Regions from separate parts of the Homo sapiens genome. Here region 2 is linked to region 1. The links are contacts of gene promoters, found by promoter capture Hi-C in blood cells and fetal thymus (Javierre and others, 2016). All regions are on one chromosome and are shown on one strand. Each heading gives the region's core, a stretch centred on a gene start or on the middle of the fragment in contact. The rest is flanking DNA. Distances are from core to core; before and after follow the strand shown.

Region 1 (4,908 bases), core at 20-2,519:
AGCGGTCTTCCGGGGTGCGCCAGCCCAGCATGGGCGGGATAGAGATGAGGAAGCCAATAAGCCAAGTGAGCGAGATGAGCGCAGCGGCGCGCCGGGGCGTCCTCTTGTTCACGTAGTCGATGGGGTCCGTGATGGCCCAGTACCTGTCCAGCGCGATGGCGCACAGGTGCAAGATGGATGAGGTGCAGCACAGCACGTCGAGGGCGATGAACAGGTCGCAGGTTACCTGGCCCAGTGTCCACTTGTTGAGCACCTGATACAGCGCGGCCATGGGCAGCACCAACACCGACACCATGAGGTCGGTGACCGCCAAAGAGCCAATAAGATAATTGGCCACGTTCTGCAGGGAGCGCTCCAAGGCGATGGCAGCCACCACGCACGCATTGCCCAGCACCGCGCAGAAGATGAGCGTGCCCAGCAGCAGAGAGGTGATCACTTGGTAGCTGACGGTCACGTCGGAGATACCAGTAGTGTTGCCGCCGGTCTCAAAGGGAGCCGGTGGTGATGTGGTGTTGTTGCCCTGACCAGGGCTGAGCACATCCATGCCTGCGCGCCCGGCGCGGGAAGGGGGAGGGAAGAAAAAGCAGCGCGAAGATTCGCCTCGCCCCTTCCCCTGGGGTCTTCCGCCCTTCTCCTGGGAAGTTTCGGAGGAAGGGAATGCAGAGACCCAAGCAGGAAGTTCTTACTGCTTCGGCGAAGGGTATCTCCGAGGAGCAGCTTTCAGGCGCTCCCTGGGCTCTCGCAGTCCAGCGCGTTCAGAAGCTCCAGCTGGGAAACTGGAGTTGGCCTGAAAGCAGCTCCAGGATCTCCCGGCGGCGGAGAGGTGGCTGGAACGTCTGTCTGTCGCTGTCCATTTTACTTTGCCGCTCCCGAACTGGCTGCCGGAGCTGGAGTCTCCCCACTAGCAAACAGTCTCCAATCCCAGAAATATCTAGAACCGAGAAGCCCCATCCTCCACGGTCACTCTGTGACCCTCCTCTCCCTATTTCCTTCCTTCCCTCTCTCCCCCTCTCTCCTCCTCTCTTCTCTCTCTTCTGCCTCTTTCGTCCCCCTTCTCCCCACCTGCCTTCCCTTTCAGTCTCCCTCTTCCTCCTCACTTCCCTTTATTTATCCCTCTGTGAGTCGCTTCGAAAGCCAGGCTCCTTCCCTCCCACTCTAACCCTCCCCTCCTAATACTTCCCCAACCCCGAGGAGTGCCTCTTTCCTCTGGGTCCCCGCCCTCCTCTCCCTCTAGCTCAGCGTCTTTGCATTCGAGTCTCTTTTTGTCAACAGAGACTCAGAACTCACTTACACACACCAGATCCCTGCCGGTCAGACCAAGGTTGTAACAAATAAACTCCGCCTCCAACCCAGCAAAACTGGGGTTGGAAAAACTTGGGGGAGGGAATTCCAACTACTCCTTGCCTCATATTATCTGCCAAATTCTTAAATCGTGTCAGCATCCCAGAGTGGCAATAGGAGATGAGAAAAGGAAGCATAGGGAGCCTGAATGGGAAGGTGAACAGTCCTGGGTCAGTCTCCCAATTATTGCTAATTGATGGAAGAAGACCGAGTGTGTCTTCCTTTTTAAAAAGCTACCTCCGTTCTCGCGCCATTGCACTCCAGCCTGGGCGACAGAGCGAGACTCCGTCTCCAAAAACAAACGAACAACGACGACAACAACAACAAAACGGTACCTCCGTTATCATCTAACAGTCCAGCCTTACTCCCTCAGGGAGAATATTGCCTGTGACTTTTTTTTTAACGTTGGGGAACCGGGAGAGAACGAAATTATAAAGGACGTGTCAAAGGACAAGGAGAGGTAAACAACTGCATCTCGAAATGAAGAACAAAACTCAGTGTGATATATATTCTAAACACACACACACTTTTCCATCACTACTACACTTGTAATTTCAGTGACACTGCCACTTCCCATAGCTTTGTGGCTAGTAAATTCAGGGATGGAAATATTTTGCATATGTGTTCTAAGTGAAGCCTGGCATTTCACATGGCCTTTTGCACTTCTTACCAGAGCCTGCAAACCTCTGGGGGAAACTTGGTGGAATCCCGGTTCGCTAGCCGGCTAGCCTCTCTTAATCTCAGAAACTGGGTTCAGCACCTGGGACAGTTCTAAGCAATGAGGTTTTATGTCGCCACCTTCTGGCAAATGTTTTAGAGTGCCATCTGGAAACCCTTATGCAGAAATGAAGCAAGTATTGAGGAAATACAACAACTTTTAGAAAGAGGAAGACAGTTATTAAAAGACAAGGTAGTATTGAGTTTTGTCTCCTTCCTATTTTCTTTAAAAATTTATTTTAGTGCCCTCTTTTGCTCTGAACCTTATATATCAGGCCTATTATATGTTTTAGCTTCCTTCGAAAGCCTGAAGTATCTGTCATTCACAAGTTCTAACTGGGAATGCCATTTTAATAAAGCTAGGCTAACACTTTCACCTGTGTTGGTTTTGTGCTGTCATAACCTGAACTTTGGAACTGACATAAATTTACCTTTTGTTGGAGAAACGAATAGTATTGCATTTTCCAAATGATTTAACATTTGGAAATGTTAAATCACTGAAAATAAAGATACTTACAAGGGTTTGTTCTAAGCTGTTTCCTTTAACAAGAAAAACAAATTTAATCACATTTGAGCATTGGTAAAGAATGGGACTTCTAAGCAACTACAGTAAACATACCACACAACATTTCACTTATACATCCTGATTGCATGCCTGAGGTGAAAGGAATGCAATCTCAAAAGCAGTTGACACTGGATAACATGAACAGATTCACTACAGATTGCAATAATCTTAATATTGTGTTCAAATCTGAGCTCTGAATTTCATAGCTCTGAATTCTCCAAGCCCAAACAAAAGAGCAATCACCAAAGCATCAAAAAGAATCCAGTTGGGCCAATGCATTACAATACAGGACAGTGTGTTTGGATAAGGTTTTGTTTGTTTTTTTTTTTTATAGTTCAGTGCTGGGCACAGTTCCCACTCAATCATTTCAGCATGCCACCACAATGAGCCTGCCATTTGTGATGATTCATGGCATTGAAAAGAAAGAGATAAGTATACATGGTAATGCTGTTTACAGACTCTGAAGAAGTCTTTTTAAGATTTGTGAAGGTATCTATTTCCACTTCTAAAGTCTCTTCACAAATACAGAACTATATTTACAGTTAAAATAGAGTTAGAGGTCCAAAAATTATAATGGGAAAATATTTAAAAGCTGAATTATCTAAAATTAAACTTTGAAATTATAGTTGAGACTATAAACAAAGTAAAATAAAGGAAACTTAAAATTTAAGAAGCAAATATATGCATATCAAGAACATAATTAAGAATTGTGTCAAACAACACATGTAAATATGTAAATCACAAATAAATCAATAAATATGTTAGTTAGAATTCTGCTTTCATCTGTTGGATCCCAAATAGTTTAATAACTGACAAATTTATTTTTTCTCATCAAGAAAGTTAAAATGCTGTAAAATCTGGAATTAATATTCCTGAGGTATAGCATTTGTTATTCTGCTTCAATATGCTATGATGTAGAATTTATCAAAGTTTTTAAAAATCCAAAGTAATTCAAGTTTTTTCTTAGTAATAATATACATAATATATCAAACATTTTATTTCTTACAATTTAAAAGTTTTTAAAGGCACACTTATGAATACTAGGAGGGAAACAGAAGTATGAAAGTATGCAGCACTGACTATGGTTCCATAGTCTGCAAGTGACTAATAGATATTTATGTTTAACTTTTTAAAACTAATAATACTGTGATATATAATAAATGATATATGCAGAATGATATTGCGTTTCTTCATTTTCACTTAGCCAATTCTTCTATGTTTAACTCTTAAAGATACAGAATACCAAATATTTCTTAAGTAAATGCTGCAAACCAAAGCTCCTGCATAAAGAGATGAGCTCTTATTCTTCAAGGCCTCTAAAGTTAACCTAAAGAAAAGCAAGCTTTATAACGGATATTATTGATGATATCATTTGAAAAGAAAAATTCTAGTCATTCTGCCTTTATTCCTTTTTGAATTTACTAGATGCCAGCATAAACTTGTCAGGTTATGAATTTAGGGTATGATATATCATCCATCATGTGAAATTTCTCTAAAATAGTTTTAAAAAGATAAATATTTTTAACATTTTCACAGGAAATTTGATACACACCCAGCATTTCAATGTAATTCCTTGACCAGGGACACAAACTAAAAAGATTTAAGCTGAAGTTTTGCTGTGAACCTTGAAGCCCTATCATTACTGAAGGCTGATGGTTGGAGTTTCTCAGTAATTGGTATGTTTGTCCATTATCCCCAAACTACGGCTGAATTGTTTTTATTACTGAAGAAAGAATCTATACAGTAAAGAGTTGAATATTTGCTTATGAGATTATAAAAGTTGTTTCTAAAAGCTCCTACTGAAAAAAAAGTTTTTACTTTTTTTTCATGTAATTGAAATTAGAATCAATTATTTTGTTAGGTTAAAAATATTATTCTAAATTTAATTCTTCCCAATCCCCAAATACTGTAGCAGTAGGGCAATTGTGTTTTGTTCAGAACTATGAATTTTGATTGGAAATGACTAGGAGAAACAACTTATAGGAAATTTTCCTTACATAATTTGGGAAATGTGGTCTTCTGATTATCACTGAAAAGATTCAAGAAATGCAACCAAAATGCCAAGAAAATAATTTTTCTTTAAAACAACACGGTTTGTTTTTGTATTGTTTTCTTGACTTTTTTGTTGTGTTTTGCTTTTTTCTTATCTAATCCTCACCATTTACCTTCTCTAATAATATCATTTCTTCACTGCTTTTTATCCCTGTCAGGCACTTGCAGGCCTGGAATTGCACTGGGTTTTCAATGATAAAACACAAACATTGGAAGCTTCAATCTCTGCTTTT
Region 2 (5,315 bases), core at 1,640-4,139, 200 kb after region 1:
ACTTATTTTGTATCTTATAATCATAAAGCTGAGTTTTTGTCTGTCTTTTTACTAAAATGTAAATGATCTTCCTGAAATATTGAAAATCATACTCTTCGTTTGTACCTTTGAGATGATGAATATTTGTTAAGATGTTTATTAAAGGAAAAAGTGTTTCTTCACTTCTGGTTGTAAAATGACTGGAGAGGTTGTTTTTAGTTTATCACACCTGTGCAAATTAATTCCTCTCTAGAGTCATGGGTTCTCATACTTGACTTTTCTTTAGAATCATCTGATATCCCACATCAAGAAATTCTGATTGAATTGTACCACAGTAAGAACAGGGCATTGGTATTTTCACAAGCACTCCAGGTTATTCCAATGTGCTTCCAAGGTTGAGAATCATTGCTCAGAAGTTACACTTTTTAAGGTTGCTCAATAAATATGGGACACCCAGTTAAATTTTAACTTTTAGTAACCAAATATTTTTAGTGTGTTTTATACTAAGAATTAATTCACTGTTTATCCAAAATTCAATTTTAACTGGGCATCCTGTGTTTTTATTTGTGAAACTTGTCAACCTTATCATTTCTCTGAGTTCATCCCTGTGATTTCATCAGAAATAAGAGATTATATTACATTACTGAATTAGAAAGCATCAAGACTTTCATCTTGTCTTTCTTCTTTCAGTCCTGTTTGTAATAAATCTTGTACCTCCAAAAGTTTATTTCTTTAAAAAGGAAGCACTGCAAATTCAGCCAGGAGGCCAATCTTTTCCTCTAGAAGTTACCCACATTCTCCCTCTTGGGTGTTTCCAGGGTGGTTCCCTCCCGGAAAGGAAGGTCAAGTCTCTCTCAGGCTTCAAAGCTCTCTGACATTTCTTGCCATCTCATCTTTCTGATTCTAGGTGGAGAAAGTTTTCTGCTTTTAAAGATTCATGTGATTAGGCTGGGCCTACGTAGGTAATCCGAAATAGTCTCCCTATTTGGGTCAGTCACTTTTATGACATCAGTAAAGTCCCTTTTCTATATACTGTAACATCTTTGCAGGATCCAGAGATTAGAATGTGGACATTTTGGGGGAGCCATTCTGCCTACCACAGTTGTTGCGGGTGTCACCTTCACTTCTCTTTTCTATCAGATTCTCTGTCTAACCACTTTGTTATAGAATACATCCTCCAATTGCTTCCTGAGAAAGAATGCATGAAAATACTATTTAAACCTTTGTATATTTGAAAATGTCTTTTTAAACCTCATACTTCATCAATTTCAAAATTGGAAATCATTTTTTTCTCAGAATTTATCTTTTATTTATGTTTCTGTTGAGAATCCAATGCCATTCTGATTTCTAAATCTTCATAAATCACCTCCTATTTTTTCCTCCATGAAAGTTAAGATCTCTCTGACTCATGTGGTTTGAAATTTCACAACTTGGTTATAGAAAATTTTTATCCATTAAACTGAGAGCTCATGTGCTTCTGTCCTTTAGCTCTGAGAACTGTTGTCCTCGTTTTCTTTGGTAATTATCTTTCTTCTCTTTGTTCTACTAGCTGTTAGATATTCCACCTTTCCTTGCCTAACTGCCCTGGCTAGTGCCTCCACTATAATGTTGAATAGAAGTAGCAACAATTGACATCCTTGTCTTATTCCTGATTTTAGGTGAAAATGTTCATTCTTTCAAGATTAAGTATGATGTTAATTATGGATTTTTCAGAGGCTCTTTATTAGGTTGAAGAAGTTTCCTTTTATTCCTAGTTGAAGTGTTTATATCAAGAAAGGGTGTTAGATTTTGTCAATTGCTTTTCCTTCATCTTTTGAGATGATCATGTGGTTTTTACATTTAGTCTATTTAAAGTAGTGTGTTACATTAATTTTGTATGTCACACCAAACTTGCATTCCTGAGATAAATCCTACTTGGTCATGTTGTATAATTTTTTAAAATGTTGCTGGGTTTGGCTTGCTAGTATTTTGTTGAGGATTTTTATGTTACTATGCATAAGGTATATTGGTCTGTAGTTTTCTCGTGATGTCTTTCATTTTGTTCTTTATTTCCTTGTATTTCCAGATGGGAAGTCACTGCATACAGCCCTAATCTTAGGACAAGTTTCCAAGTAAGCCACTTCAGGCAAATAAAAATTTCTGTATCTAGCAGAGAAACAAAGCTGTATATTTTTTTTGAGGTTCCCTCCTAGCTCCCTTCCCTCTCCTCAAGCCAACTAATAAAACTTGCTTTTTATATTCCGAATCTTATTTATAGTCGTTTGATCATCTATGAGGCACCTGCAAGTCAACATTTACTGCACGCGGCCCCCTCACTCCCTAAATAAGCACTTTTGATTTACCGCCAGTCATCAACTCACCTCCCAACTGCAATTTGTCAAGAGTAGTGTCAGGTGCACTTTAGTGGTTAATCTCCTTGCACATCGGTGGAACTTTAGGCACAAGAAGGTAAGCAACGAAGATAGTGATATACGAAGGGAAAACTAAACCCAGGTAGCGTTGCCAGCTTAAAAGTCCTAGGCATGGGGATGGGTGGATGGGACGCCGGCCTAAGATTTTAGCAGGGAACAGACCCAGTAGTTGGCTTGGATCTCTTAACTCCAGAAAAGGCCGAGTGAGGACAAGGGAGACCACAGGGATAATTTCTGTGGCTCTGGTAAGGGGATGACAAGGGAGAAAAACTTTCCCACGGTTCCGTCTGGCCCGCGGCGCTTGTCTGCCTGCGCGGGGTCAAAGCCCGGCGCCGCCCACGCGCGGCTCGGGTGGGAACCCGCAGACGTGGGGCGAGCAGGGCCGCTGGCTGTGGCGGGCGAGCGCCGGGGCGCCACGTCCGAGGCCGCGGGGTCGGGGCTGCAGGCACAGCTCGAGCGCTTTCCGCGGGGTTTGGCTCCTGTCGCTTCCCGTCTCGCCGAACCGGCATCGCCGCCGCCGGAGCCGCAGCGAGTCCTCAGAGCCTGGCTGCTGGCGGCCGGGAGCGCCGGGACGGGGCGCGAAGCCGGAGGCTCCGGGACGTGGATACAGGTAAAGGCCGGCGGGTCGGAGTCGGGCGGGGCGCGGCGGCGGCGCCTCTCGGAGGGACCTGGCCTCGGCCGGGCCCTACCCAGCCGCGGTGGCCCGGGCCCCCACGTTGGCCCAGGCGGGGACGTGCCAAGGGGCTGGGCTAGGGTTGCCGCTGGCCTGGCCGCCTCTCGCCCGGCGGGCCTCAGGTGACGCGGCCGCGGCTTAACTTTCGCACCTGAGGCTCTCGGAGCGGCCTCGGGGCGCGCCCACCTGGAGGTTGGAATTACACAGGGTCGAAAAAGCTGAGTCCTGGAGGCGAGGCGCTGTAGGTGTGGCGGAGGAGGCCGGGGAAGGTGGGGTGGGTGCCAGGGGTCCAGTACTGAACCCTCTCCAGGTCTGAGGTGGGGAACTGCGTCTTGTTTAATTTCGGAGCTTGTGGGGACCACACAGCCCCTTCCACGGCCGATTCCCTCTGCACGGTTCCACTTTCCTTTGTCTAGCCCATTTCAGTATCGGCGTCGCAGTCGCTTTTGTTGCAGCCTTGGGTCCGGAGTGTACGACTTTCTGCTAGGCAGAGGTCATAAGCTCTGAAATCCATCGGGCGGAGGTGGGGAGATGGTCCTTTGGTGGGAAATTACTAGTGCTGTTATGAACACTAACACATATATTCCACCTTGTTTTTTTTCGAGATAGTGCTCATTATTTTCGTAGCATCTAACAGTTGTAAGTGTATCTGTGAGAGCATTCATTAGTTAACTTCAAAGGAGCATTATGCGGTCGGGTTACTATTATCCCATTTTATAGACCAGACAGCTGAGGCACCCAAGAGGCAAAGTGATTATATCAAAACTAAGCAGTCAATCCTTGTGGAATCTGTGATTAGAACTTGTCTGACTAGAGTTGTCCTTGGTCCAGTTGGTCTCTTAGTCTCAAACAAAATTTAGCTCTCAAAGATGGACGGTCTGATGCTCATTGTATTTTTATATACTCATTAATTGTTAAAACCTTTCTTAAAAAATAGAGTCAATTCCTTTCAGACTCCTGTTATAGTACCCCTAAAAGTGATACTTGAAAGATCATAAACACTTCAGTTTCAAATGAGTGGTATCATTTGAGTCGTAGAAAGAAGTAAAATTCCGTTGTCTTTTATCTGTCAGACTTTCGTCTCTTGTATAAATGTAGTGCCACTGGCAGCCCAAAGATACTTTGGTGACAATGGCAGAAACTCTAAATATTTATTTAATAAGTAGAATCGAGGAGGCGAGCTGTTAGGTTTCCCGGAATATTTGAGTAAGTTTTTTCTCATAAAGAATCAAAAATTTAGGAGAATAGTCATTTTAATTATTGTAATGAAAAATTATCTCGTAATTGTGTACGTGTTATGTTGTACTTTATCTCTCTGGAACCATCAACAATTTACCAGTTTCCCTAGGGTTTGCTCTTAGTTTTGTCAATGGTATTTTATTACCCCATTTTTCTTCCTCTCTTTCATTTTTTGTGTGTTTGGTTTTTCAAAGTGAAGATTTTTTCTTCGAAAATTCAAAAAATAATATTGAAAAAATCAACAAGATTTCTTTCTTGATAAAATAGACTTAATTAGCACTTTTTTGAGTGTGTCTGAGGACCGACACCAGCCTCTTTAATAAGCACCTCATACATGAAGCAGGAATTCTTCCAGGCAAGAATGCAATAAATTAATCATTTTAATATATTTCTGTAATATGACATAGCTACCTGAATGATAATGCTTTTTACTCTTACAATGTCTTTTTCATTAAGGAGCATAAAGATTAAAAATTTCGCTTAAATTTTGCTAACTACATAGTACAAGGGGACAGTGTGCTTAGACTTAATTGTTGCTTTCATGGAATAAACACAGTTCTCTCTCCCTTATACCACCTCCATTTGGCCATCTGAAAAAAGAATGGTGATGTGTCCTTTCCTTCATAGGGATATTTGGGGAATTAATGAAGTAATATCTCGAAAGTAGTTTGAACTCCACGGAAGAAAGCAGCTTTGTAACTTTGAAATGTGATTGCAGAGTCTTGAAACATTTTCCCTCCTTAAACGTGCTGTCGTTTATATTTTTAGAGAGTGGTCATTCCAAGTAGTCACCTCAGGAGGCTAAAAACTTATTCCAGTAGTGCTGCTGCCATTCATAATTATTTTGTATTTTTTGAAATTTCTAGTCAATTTACAAGCAAAATAAAAACATTTCATGATAACATTCATAAACACTTGTTTTTGTTTCTATTTTTTAATCAAAAAACTAATTCAGCTTGAGTACCTATTTTCTTTGCTAAATTTGGCAGAATGATTTCTACATGGTTGTAAAA

The links. Contacts are between HindIII fragments. The CHiCAGO score rates a contact against its expected background, and 5 or more counts as called.
Region 2: the fragment with the promoter of RNF180 here is called in contact with the fragment with the promoter of HTR1A in region 1 in 2 of 17 cell types (naive CD8 T cells and non-activated CD4 T cells); the score reaches 6.1 in naive CD8 T cells.

Annotation. Positions count from the first base shown.
Region 1 is chr5:63,961,176-63,966,083 of GRCh38, forward strand. It overlaps HTR1A (5-hydroxytryptamine receptor 1A), which reads right to left and starts at 1,270. Exons shown (of 1, transcript NM_000524.4): 1 at 1-1,270. The coding sequence starts at 544. RefSeq lists an enhancer at 7-984. The HindIII fragment of the contact is 6,748 bases long and covers 1-3,963 here.
Region 2 is chr5:64,162,954-64,168,268 of GRCh38, forward strand. It overlaps RNF180 (ring finger protein 180), which reads left to right and starts at 2,890. Exons shown (of 8, transcript NM_001113561.2): 1 at 2,890-3,000. The HindIII fragment of the contact is 6,760 bases long and covers 1-5,315 here.